Regions from separate parts of the Homo sapiens genome. Here all the other regions are linked to region 2. The links are contacts of gene promoters, found by promoter capture Hi-C in blood cells and fetal thymus (Javierre and others, 2016). All regions are on one chromosome and are shown on one strand. Each heading gives the region's core, a stretch centred on a gene start or on the middle of the fragment in contact. The rest is flanking DNA. Distances are from core to core; before and after follow the strand shown. Region 1 overlaps CCSER2 (coiled-coil serine rich protein 2). Region 2 holds the start of WAPL (WAPL cohesin release factor). Region 3 overlaps CCSER2 (coiled-coil serine rich protein 2).

Evidence for each region. The method cuts DNA at HindIII sites, captures the fragments that hold promoters and counts their contacts. A CHiCAGO score of 5 or more calls a contact.
Region 1: a contact is called between a fragment that was not itself captured here and the fragment with the promoter of WAPL in region 2, in 1 of 17 cell types (naive CD8 T cells). The highest score is 7.7, in naive CD8 T cells.
Region 3: a contact is called between a fragment that was not itself captured here and the fragment with the promoter of WAPL in region 2, in 1 of 17 cell types (total CD4 T cells). The highest score is 5.2, in total CD4 T cells.

Annotation. Positions count from the first base shown.
Region 1 is chr10:84,467,705-84,471,854 of GRCh38, forward strand. CCSER2 (coiled-coil serine rich protein 2) reads left to right here. Exons shown (of 10, transcript NM_001284240.2): 8 at 2,668-2,754. Among named protein-coding and RNA genes, the nearest start is that of CCSER2, 140 kb to the left of the region's middle. The HindIII fragment of the contact is 4,261 bases long and covers 1-3,733 here.
Region 2 is chr10:86,520,348-86,523,996 of GRCh38, forward strand. It overlaps WAPL (WAPL cohesin release factor), which reads right to left and starts at 1,445. Exons shown (of 19, transcript NM_015045.5): 1 at 1,018-1,445. It overlaps WAPL-DT (WAPL divergent transcript), which reads left to right and starts at 1,600. Exons shown (of 2, transcript NR_186498.1): 1 at 1,600-2,062; 2 at 2,162-3,649. RefSeq lists silencers at 939-1,358, 1,499-2,058. The HindIII fragment of the contact is 16,574 bases long and covers 1-3,649 here.
Region 3 is chr10:84,416,955-84,420,648 of GRCh38, forward strand. It overlaps CCSER2 (coiled-coil serine rich protein 2), which reads left to right. Exons shown (of 10, transcript NM_001284240.2): 4 at 817-907. Among named protein-coding and RNA genes, the nearest start is that of CCSER2, 90 kb to the left of the region's middle. The HindIII fragment of the contact is 478 bases long and covers 1,772-2,249 here.

The DNA of each region.
Region 1 (4,150 bases), core at 353-2,852, 2.1 Mb before region 2:
ACATACTTGTTGTTCTTCTGTATTCACCATTTCTTTTGTTGGCGCAGCTATTCACCATGTCACTCAAGCTAGAAATACAGTGTCACCCTTGAATGCTCCTCTGTTCTTTTCTCACATGCAGTGAATTGCCAAAAATCTCAAAATTTTGATTTCTTCTCTCCCTTTTCATCTATATTATCACTCTCTTGGGTCAGGCTCCTACTCTTATCTAGATTATTATAATATTTTCATAAGTGCCTAGCTCAGTTTTCTTGCTGTTGTTAAAATTTGTCCTCTAAACACCTGTCAAAGCCATCTCAAATGCAAATCTGTCACTCCCTAGCTAAGGCCATGCGTGATAGTCATGGCTCTCTGTGATCTGGCCCTTGCATAGTTTACTAGCCAATTGCTTCTCAACATTAATCAGAACCTATGTGCAACAGCGACACTGCTTATACTTCTCCAGACGTGCTATGCTTTCCCTCACCTTTGTATTATATTGTATGGCACTTAGAATCCTTTAACTAAAATTCCAAGCCTACCACACTCCTCTATCTTCTGAATCTTGTGCTTATCCTTTGGAACTCCACTGTAGTCCCTCATTTCTGATGTGTGATGTCACTTCTTTGCCTATCTTTATATATAAAATCAGTGTTCCCAATGCAAAGAGATGATAAATGTTTGAGATGATGGAAATGCTAATTGCCCTGATCTAATCACTATAAATTATATGTGTCAAAACATTACTGTGTAAACCATGAATATGTACAATGTTATCTGTCAATTAAAAGTAAAATTAAAACAATGAAATGGTTTTGGTGGGGGAAAAAAATCCTTAGAGCAGTGCCTGCCATACAGCAAGTGCTATATACATGCTGGCTATTAATGTTCTTAGCACATTATTTGTTGATTTCATTTTTGGGTCCATTTCCTGTGTAACACAGTCCGAACCTACTGGTGACTGCATGAATGATGGCTATATAGTGTTCCATGAAGTTGCTACATTTTATTCCCGTTGTCCTCTTACAGGACAATTGTAAACTTGTTAACTTTCAGATAACACCTTGTTATAGGTTTTCTCTTTCTAAGGATCATTTCTTTCATATAGATTCCTAGGAGTAGGATAACTGAATCAGAGTGCAGGTATTTTGATGGCTCTTAAACATACAGATGTATATTTGTCCAAAAAGGTTAACTGCTATGTCTGATGGTGTGCCATTTTTTCCTGCAGTCTGGTTAATTACATTGGGTATTTCACCACTAACTTAATATTTATAAAACAATACTTTATTCAACAAGTTAAATACAACATTTTACCAGTTATATGTATATTTGTGAGAACTGGCTACTTGTCTGTTGAGGCCTTAAAAATGATCTTAAATGTTTAGACAGGCTGTTAATATACTTGAGATATAAATCCTCTGTCATATTTGCATGGATTATCAATAGCTTTTAACTAATGTTAATTGTTAAGGTGCCTTAAAATGTTATATAATTAAATATAAATCATTTCTTTTGAATAGCTATATTTGCTACATAACTTAGAAATGTGTCCTTCTAAATGTATTCTTAGAAATGTATCTTTCATGATCTGCAATCCATCTTTTTTGTCTTTATGAATTTTTATAATTCCTAAACTTAAAAACAAGTGGAGATTATCTTTTGTATGTAATAAAGTCTTTTTCAATTATAGTGTACATAATAGCATTTTAAAAATCTTCCACATTGTTTGGGATGCTTATGTGATATGTTCAAGGCTTTGTAAAATGTCTATTTCTGATCTCTTTGTTAAAGAGAATATATGTTTTTGTTCCCGATGTAGCTAAAGGGGATGACATTCTTTGCTTAGTTACAACACATCCTAATTATTTGCTTACTTGTTTTTCTCTCTGGAAAGATGTTATTCACATCTATATTTGAATTTCCTTGCTTATATTACCTTCTCTTTTGGATAACTGAATAATGAAACACAAACAACATGGGCTAACTATAGGGTAATGATTAACACTTTGGAAATGTAACTGGATTCCTGCTTAACTTGACAGTAGGTTTCCATTTAATAGTACTAGGCATTTCTTATAGATCCAATTGAGAAGGTGTTCTCTCTTTGATTCAGGAGGTACTCCTCAAAAAGTGGCTCATGGTCAAAGAATCTTCCTTGTTACCCTTCAGGCACATTTATCTTTTTTGCTGATTTGTAAACCAGCCATGAAATGCCTCTGTGCCTTTAATTATTCTATTGCCTCTGCTTCTCATGCCCTTTGTTTTCTTTCACAGGCTACTCTTATGTATCCCTTGAAGTCTAGCTGAAGTTGCTTTTTTGTATGTGATTTTTTTTTTTTTTTTTTTTTTTTACTCTGTGGCCTATGTCCCAGTTTTCTTATATGTAAAAAAGGATTACAGTACCTACCTCAGGAGTGTGGGTAGAATCAAATGCTTAAATAAGTGCAAGTGCTTAGTTTTTAACATCTAATAAGTTCTCAATGAATGCTAACTGTTGCTGCTACTATTGCTCATTGTCAACATGTCACACTTCATTACCGGATGAAATCTTAGATTTTTTTTTAATAGAGGATTTCCCCCCTAAATGACCAGATAGTTTGTTCATTACTGTGTCTTCATCATTGATTTCATGCCTCTCATTATGGTATTTTAAATACCTCATCTAAAGATTTTTTAATATTTCAGAATGAAGATTTATTAAATGAAATAAAACAACTTAAAGACGAAATAAAGAAAAAAGATGAAAAGATCCAACTATTAGAACTTCAGCTTGTAAGTATTGTAGTATAATGTATAGAGACTTTTCAAACTGGGTGAAATGTGTTTTTCATAAAACTCTGAGCCAGAAGTAGAGTTTAGCTTTATTTTTGGCTCTCAAAGTTGCACTTTTATATTATTTTTAGATTATATGCACTGTAATAAAAGTATGTGATTTAACTTTTAATCTAAATATTAAGTATTTGGTTTGGAAAATTCTTCATTGATTCAGCGACCTCAGTTTTGGGTATTTAAAATTTACCAATTTACATTCATTTTGTTGATACAAGGGTAAATGGCTTTTCTTCAGATATATTTAAAGAAACAAGTACTTGTGAGTTGAGAACAGGGTATTTTCTCTCTCTGTGAGCAGAATTAGCCTGGGTATTCAGATTTAGGTAGCTGCATCACTATCAGATTGAAGGGTACTCCAAGAAAATGTTTATTTCCTATGGATGCTATTGAATGATCCATCAGAGTCATGTTTGAATCTTCATAATCTAATAATTGTGCAATTTCACATATTAGTCTCATATGAAAACAATATGTATGGTGTCTTGAATTTAATTATTACTTAGTTTGTATATAAAAGACCATGATAAAAAGAAAATAATGGCCTAAAAATCACAACACTCAAAAGGAAATCTTTGTTGTGAGTCAAGAGCACATTTTGGTCTAACAAAGCAATTTGGTGAAATATTAATCTCACTGAAAATATAAAGGATATCATATACTGAGCTCTGAGCCACTGGGGTCAGCTCACGGAGATCCATTTCATGAATAAATAGAGCAGATAAATCAAATATTATGATTAAAGGAACAAAGAAAATTTATGAAACTGAATAAAAAGTAGCATAATATTACAAATTGAGGTCCTGTCACATACAAAATTAAAAAGGAAAATAATAAGGCCTAGTGTTTGTGTTCAAAGCCAAAGACAAGAACCCAATCAACTTTCAGGGAGAAGAAAAAAGACAACAAAGAAAATTATGTAAGCTTCGATTTTTACAAAAATATATTACAGAGCACAAGATATTGTGTCTTGTGCAATTCAGAAAAGAGGTTATGAACCTCCTATTTTATATCCAAGCAAGTTTTTATTTATATACAAAGGTAAATTCTGACCTTTAATGTCTTGACAGACCCAGTTAATACATTTCAGATATTTGAGAGGTAAATTGAAAAATAACTCAAGAATAAGGAGATAAAGATTAAAATGAATGAGCGGTGAAATGGAAACTAAGTGGTGTAAACTTCTGAGCCACTAGTTGGAGAAAACTTACTGCCCATTTTACCTAATGTAAATTACATATCATTCTAATGTTGGGATTTGTTTGGATTTATAAATCCTTAATTTTTCTGAAATTAAAAATTATTTTTAATTTTAAAATTTTAAGTTGCTATTAATTTT
Region 2 (3,649 bases), core at 195-2,694:
TTACAAATACATAGTGAAATACTGATGAAATAACGTCAGCGATTTTCCAACATTAAGGAATGAGAAGTGTATAGATGAAATAAATTTGTTTAATAGTCACTGCTAAATCCAAGCGATGGGTACAGAGAAGTTCATTATATAATATCTCCTCCTGATTGCCTTTATCGTTTCCCACAATAAAATGTCTTTGCAATGGCATTATCTAAGCGTAAAGCACTACAGATTCCAAAATAAGTGTGCAGACGTCCTTGAAGTTAAATTTTAAGTGTTTCAAGTACACAATCTTGCTCAACCTTTAAACTCCAAAGACTGTCCTAACTAAAAAGGAAAGAATGATTGACGACTAAGTCTTTTCGGTCGTTCGGCTTTTGCCCTAGCCCAAAATCAGGTCGAATTTTGAGAGAAGTGCGCTGTGATTTAAAAAAAAAAAAAAAAAAAAAAAAGCAAAAAGCCTTTATACTTCACTCCCACCCTAATCTAGCGTCTTCCCGATCCCCAAAGGCTTTAAGGGCTTCCATTAAAGATGGAAAGCGGACGGGACGAACCTGACTAACCAGAAATCCTCACCTGGGGACAGCCGGGGCGCCACGGGCAGTGGGCGCGATGGACCCCTCGGACTAGACACTCAATGCAACTTTTCTCCTCCCAACCCGCGCCGCCCAGGAAAGGGAGGTCACTTTCGACGCCCCGGAAGCCTCTGCCACCGAATCCTTAAGGCAGTGCAAGGCCCCAGTGGCGGCCAGAGGCGGATGAAACCACGGGAAAGGACTCGGGGCTGAAATCAACACACTTGACTGGGTTTGGGGAGCTAAGTCAATCAGCAGTCGCCCGAAAAAGAACTCCGAAAAAGGAAAATAAAAGGGGAAAAAAAGAGTTCCTCAGGTCATTCCCCTGCCCAACTTCCTCAGCGGCCCGGTGGGCGAGGCAGTGAGACTTCCACCGCCCGCTCCCAGCCTCTGCCTCCCCCACCCTCCCGGCTCCCTCCCGGCCTAGGCGGCCGCCCGACACCTCACTTACCCTCGGAGCCTGGCGGGTGCTTTGGCCACGGGCCGCCTCCGCCTCTCCCGCTCCCTACGGCCCGCGGGCGGGCGCGGAACCCTCGCGCGGGAGAGCAGGGCCGGCAGGTGAGAGCCGAGAGAGGCGAGGGACTCTGCTTTCGGTAAATAGGAAGCCCGGTTGGGGGGGCAGGAGCGGCGGCCCCGCAACTTCCCTCCCCGCCTCGAGCGCCGCCGGCCGGGCCCAGGCCTAGCTCTCGCTGGCCGCCACTGCTGGAGCTGGTAACAGAGCCTGCTGTGTGCCCCCGCTGGGCCGCCGCCGCCTCCTGCGCCGCCGCTTCCGCCGGTGAATGGTCAGTGCTGGAGTTTGAACAGGGCCCTGAACCATCTCAACGCCATTTGCGCTCCCGGCCCCCACCTCCTTCCTCCAACAGCCGCTCGCTCCGTCACTCCGCTTCCCACAGTCCCCGCGCGGCCGCCCGACCCCGCAGCCAATCGCGCAGCCGCTTACTCAAACCGCCGCGCAGGCGCTGCGCCCCGCATGCTCCGGCGCCCGCCATTGGCCCGGCCGCGGAGCCCGACGGGAGTTGTAGTCCAGGTCCGCGAGGTCGCGGGCCGAGGACCAGGCGCGGGAGCGGGAGCGGGCGACTGGCCGGGCCCTCCCGGTCTCGGCAGCCACTTCTAGCTCCCGGCCCAGCCGGGAGACGCAGGTGCCACGGAGATGGGCAGCCGGGCGGGTGGCGCAGTGCAGGCAGCTGTATCAATCGCTTCCCCTCCAGGGACCCGCCGGTGCCTGGGGACCGCGGGCTGTGCAGCTGTGCCGGGCCTGCGGAGGCCGCCGCCCGGGAGCTGGGAGGCAGGGGGCGCGTGGTCAAGAGCCGCCCTCGACCTGGCCTGGTCGGTCCTGGCCCGGCGTAGGTGACGATGGCGGGGACCGCGAGGCGCCGGACACCCGAGGCCACGAGCAGCGTCGCCCCTCGCTTTTTCGCGCCCCTCCAGCCCTGCAGTCCTTCCTCTAAGTCCGTCTGCCCCTCACCGATTGAAAGTGGCCCCGAGAATATTGGATGGTATTGAGCAATTATCATTAACTTTGTTGGGTGTGGTAACGGTAATGTGGTTATGGTTTTTTGTTTTTTTTTTTTTAAGACCTACTGATGTGTTGACAGAGTGATCTGGTGTCAGGACTGTAAAATACGCCTATGAAAACTGGGGGAGAGGAATAAAACAAGCTGGCAGAACGTTTTTCATCGTTGAAGCTGCGTGATGCGAGCATATGTGCTCATCATACAGTCTCTTTACTTGTGTATCTGAAATTTTCCATAATAAAAAGTTTAAAGAAGTGAACCAGCGATTGCCTCTAGGGAGGACAGTGAGGTGGCGGATGACGGGAGGAAGGAGTCTTAATTTTTCGCTGTACGCCTTTTTGTGCTATCTTAGGTTTTTCCCATTCAATGTGTTACCTAATTCAGAAAATTGGTAAGTTTTTTTTAAGGCTACCATGGGAAAACAGCGTTCTAAAGAGTAGCGCAACCAGTTCCCCCTAAGAGAGGTGCATGATTCGTCGGACTCCGACAGCCTTGGTGTTTGTTAGGCGGTTAATGGAGACCCACCTGGGAAATTAGAAAACTACTAATTGCTTTCAGTGAGAAGCCCGCCCTTCTCCCACAAATGGATAATTTGCTTTTAATGCACCCAGAAGTTATCCAGCTCCCTCCGGTATAATCGGGGAAACTCCAAATAAAGGAAAAATAGTTCAGAGACCCTGCAGCTCTTCCCAAGAGGAATTTAAGGTGGATTTTAGTGTGGTTGGATTGTTTTGCCTACCTGACTGCAGAATTTATATTCTGACATTTACAATTTCCTAAATACTGAATCAGTACTTTTTCTTGTTTCAAAATAAATCAACTTCTTCTGTAGTTTATATGAAAAACAAGTCCATGTCTTCCACTGTGGGTGGGATGCACATGACTGTTTTATTTGGGTCAGTTTTGTCTCTTTTTTTAATTGGCAGTTTAGGAACTTGTTTTTATCATTTTGTTTAAAGATCTTCTGGCAGAGGTGCAGGCTGCACTTACTATAATTATTTAGATGACAAGGTGGTGGGTGGTAATTAAAGGGTAATTATCATCAGAGGCAAAAGGTAAGATCAAAAAACCAGAAGAGGTGAGGAAACAATTGCAAGATCTTCCTGTAGGAGGGTGTCGTGATCCTCCCAAGACCAAAGGATATGTCTATTATGCCTGGCCTCTCTAGTGCTGGACACTTGGCAGGGTCAGTGCCTGCATGAGGCTGAAGTGGAAGGGCTTATTGTTTAGACTGGTGCCTTTTGAGGGCTTTTATGTGATGGTTGTGTTAAGTAATGAAACTTAGTAGTGTCAAATTCTTGCCACTCAAAGAATGATCCCCAATCAGCAGTGTAGCATCACCTGGAAGCCTGTAAGGAACGCATAATTCCTATCCCTCACCCCAGCTCCACTGAATCAGAACCTGCATTTTAACAGGATTCCCCCAGCTGATTGGGCTGCACATTAAAGTTTGACAAGCACTGATTTAAAGTATACCCATAGCATTTGACAGCAATCTAGTATTTTTCGTTAGGATGAGGGAGAGGAAGGGAGATGATTAAGAACCTCCTATGCATCAGGTAAGATGCT
Region 3 (3,694 bases), core at 761-3,260, 2.1 Mb before region 2:
TGATGTCTCAGTCTTTTAAAAGTTTGTTGGACTTTTGATCTTTTTACTTGTATATACTAAGGAAAGGTCTTATGATATTTGGATTCATTCTTGGATTGTAAGGACGCACCAGTGGGCTATAGGTCAAACTGAGTTTATTACCTTAACCTTAGTTTTTGTTTATTCAGTTCTTTAGGCTTCAGAACAACAGTCTTTGAAAATAAAACACTACTTTTTTAAGAAGAGATAATAGCTAGTAAGGTTGCAAATAAAAGCCAGCAGGGACTGCATATGCTAGGTTGAATAGTCTAGTCTTATCATAGAAAAAGAACAAATTGAGTCAAGCCAAGGAGGTGACAGAGTGCTTAATGGTAACAGGAGATGGGTTTGGCACAAGAAAGGAAATGGAATAACCACATTGTTAAAGACTTATTTTATTATTTATGTAAGTGGTCCAATCCCTGGAAATAATAGAACAGCCTCTCACCTCTTATACCAATTATGAATAAATTTTGGGCAATTCTTTACTATTTTTGATTCTTCAGTATTTTACCAGGGAAGATGTTAAAAACATGGACTTAAAAGTTTTTTAATATGAAAATAAAAATCTATTGGGGAGGAAAGACTAGGAGGAAGACTAGGAGAAGGATGTTAGAAATAGCTTAATTAAACTAGTTGAATCTATTTTTATTTTTAAAAAACTTGAAAACCTATTTTATTCTTTCAGTGCAGATAATGAGTGAATTCAGGATATCATATAGTTCGATTTTAAAAAATAATGGTTGACATATCCTTAGAGCTAGATTATGGTATATTTTTTACTGCTTTTGTTCACAGGATATTTTGAATAATCTTGAATCATGTGACCTTGAGGATGATGATCTTATGCTTGATGTGGATCTGCCTGAGGATGCACCTCTTGAAAATGGTAAGTTGAGACAATATTGAACCTTCAGAGGTATATACTTGAGCTACTCGACTGTAGCCAATTTGATATTTGTTACTTGCAGACTTCTTAATCTTAATGGAGCCTTTCAGACTGAGAATCAGTCTTAAGTGAGGTAAAATAGGTTCATTTGCAAACTAACTTAAATATTTAAAACCTGATTTTGTAAGTCTTAGATATAATTCTCTATCATCCAATAACATTGTATACCATAAAGTAAGTTGCAGATAAGAGTTGTCTTTTTTTCTGTGTATGTACCCAGTTTTTCCTCCCTTTATCTCATTTTGATTTTAGGAAGAAATGTATTTACAGAAACATACCATCTTACTTGTGAAACACTATAATATCTTAATTTGATAAATATTTTATAGAGATTAATTCTGGGAATGTGATGACCTTCTGAATGGATCATTCTGTACATTTTACTCCCAATTCTAGTCTATCTTTCTCTCTAGAGCCAAGTAACTGCTGGGGTGAGGCTTTAGGTAATCCATATGGGAGAGGGGCCTTAGGTTCTTTTCACTCCAGTGACATAGCACTTGTAGGATTTTTTTTATCTTAAAGACTGTTGGAGAACCAGAAACCAGCATAAAAAAGCCCTGGAGGCAAAGGTTGAAATGGGGATACTCCTGGGGAGAGGGCTGCCCTTAGAAATCTGAGAATTTCCTGTCAATCAACATTTGCCTGGTCTCACAGGCCTCCATGGGCTGGAAATAAAGTGAAAATGGTGAGTGGGATCCTTTTATCCATGGTGCTAGAAAAATGCAAGGAATATTTCAGAGAGGGGAGGTGTCTGTTCCAGTGCTTCACTGGGGTGTTAGTAGCCTGCTTTGCTGCTTTACTACAAGCTTATATTTGTCATACTGGTGAGGCTTTTATTTTTCCTGCCAGAATGCTGTATGGCATTCTCAAAATCTCAGTTGCTTTCAAAATAAACGTGTATTTTTCTCATTCATGGATCTAAGGATTAGCTGGGAAGCTCAGGCTATGGGACTAGCTTGAGGTCTGTTCCATGTTTCTTCATTTTGAGACCAGGACCACTGTGGGGCAGGTTGTTCTCACGACAGCAGAAATGCAACAGGATGAGCAGAAACATGCATATTATGTCTCTTAAAGTCTTAGCTAAGAACTAGCACATTTTTTTTTTAGAATAACAAAAAATATTTTACTAAAACGTAAGATTTACAGAAGTTTCCAGATAAGCCATACGAAATGGTCACAAGATTTTTTGAAGAGGGGAATCTACACTTGACAGCAAAGTCACAATGTTGTTAGTGAGGGCTGTGATATTTGTTTAATGTTCCCATTTTAGTTCAAACAGTCAAGCTTGTCCATCTACATTGTCTAAATAAAGTTAGATTTGGTTAGAGAGCGTATTCTAAAGAACTGCTTAGCTGCTTTTAACCAATGCAGTTAGATCACCAAAAAACGGGAGAAAGGAGCCCATAAAATTAAAATAAAACCAGCTCCCTTCTCAAAAAAAAAAAAATAAAATAAAGAAAAACACCCACACCCCTGGAGCTAACCTGACAACTATCTTCATTCACAGAGGACACTTATTTCTAAGCACATTCTTTTGGCCAAAGCAGGTAACATGGCCAAACCTAACACCTTTGAGACTGGGAAGTGTACTCTTCATAATGAAGGCTCTGCACATGATAGAGGACATTGCATGTATAATTCTGTAAGGAGAGAATGAAAAGTTGAGGACAATATCCACCACTGTCTCACAGAGACAGAGAATGTTACACCTTTTTGTGGTTCTGCTGTCGCTTAGTATGCTCTGGCAAACAGCTGAGTTCTAGTGCTGAAAAAGAAAAAAATCACAGGCAACACTGAGGAAGAACAAGGAAAATGACAGAACCCTGAGGATTAGAGTAGTCAAAGGAGATAATCACTTAGATTGAATTGCAGCACAATTCTTTCTGGAGTTAAAAGACAAGACTTCCCAACAGAACAGTTTATTCAGTAAATGACAGAAAGCATCACTGCTATTGAATCTGAATTAGTGACTTGAAAGATCAAGTAGAAAAATATTGTAGAACACAGAGGAAAAACATAAACCATTGGAAAGTTATAGGGGAAGAATAATGAGACTTGATGATCTGGGAAATTTAATGGTAATTTTTAGGGCTGGTAGTGAGGAGTGAGGGATTTACTTCCTCGGAATAAATCACATGCTAGGTAATGCATTTTACTTTGACAGAATTGTAACAACTTCTCTTGGAAACTTTATGCCCTTTCTGAGTGGAAGTAGAAAGAAAGGATCTTAGAGCCTGCCTTATCTTTAGCAGACAACAGAAAGTTACCCAAATATTAGATAAAAGTAGAATCACAGGGAAATTTAGTCTTTGAGGTCTTGATTGGGGACTTGTGAAAAGTAGGAGGGAACTCTTGGGAACATCCCACATAAACAGTACTTTAGATTTTTCTAGAAGAAGGCAAACAACTATTGGCTATTTTGAGTAAAGGAACATTAAAGAAAGCATGTAAGAACATGGATCTAAAATATGTAGCCTCCTGAGGCACCAAAGATAAAATAGTATCTAGGTTTGGTACTATAGGAAAGTGGGAAATTTTTCTTTTTATGGCTCTTAAGTCCCGAACAATTATACACACCCATTACAGTTTTTTGGCTGGGAGGATGAGAATGTTACAGGGACTGATAGAGATTTAGGGAGTCTAATAATGTGCTTTCCACTACAGGTTTTAGTCCTTTATAGCTTCTGGTTGTTGATGATATTATGCAGGTTTGATAAAGATTTAGAT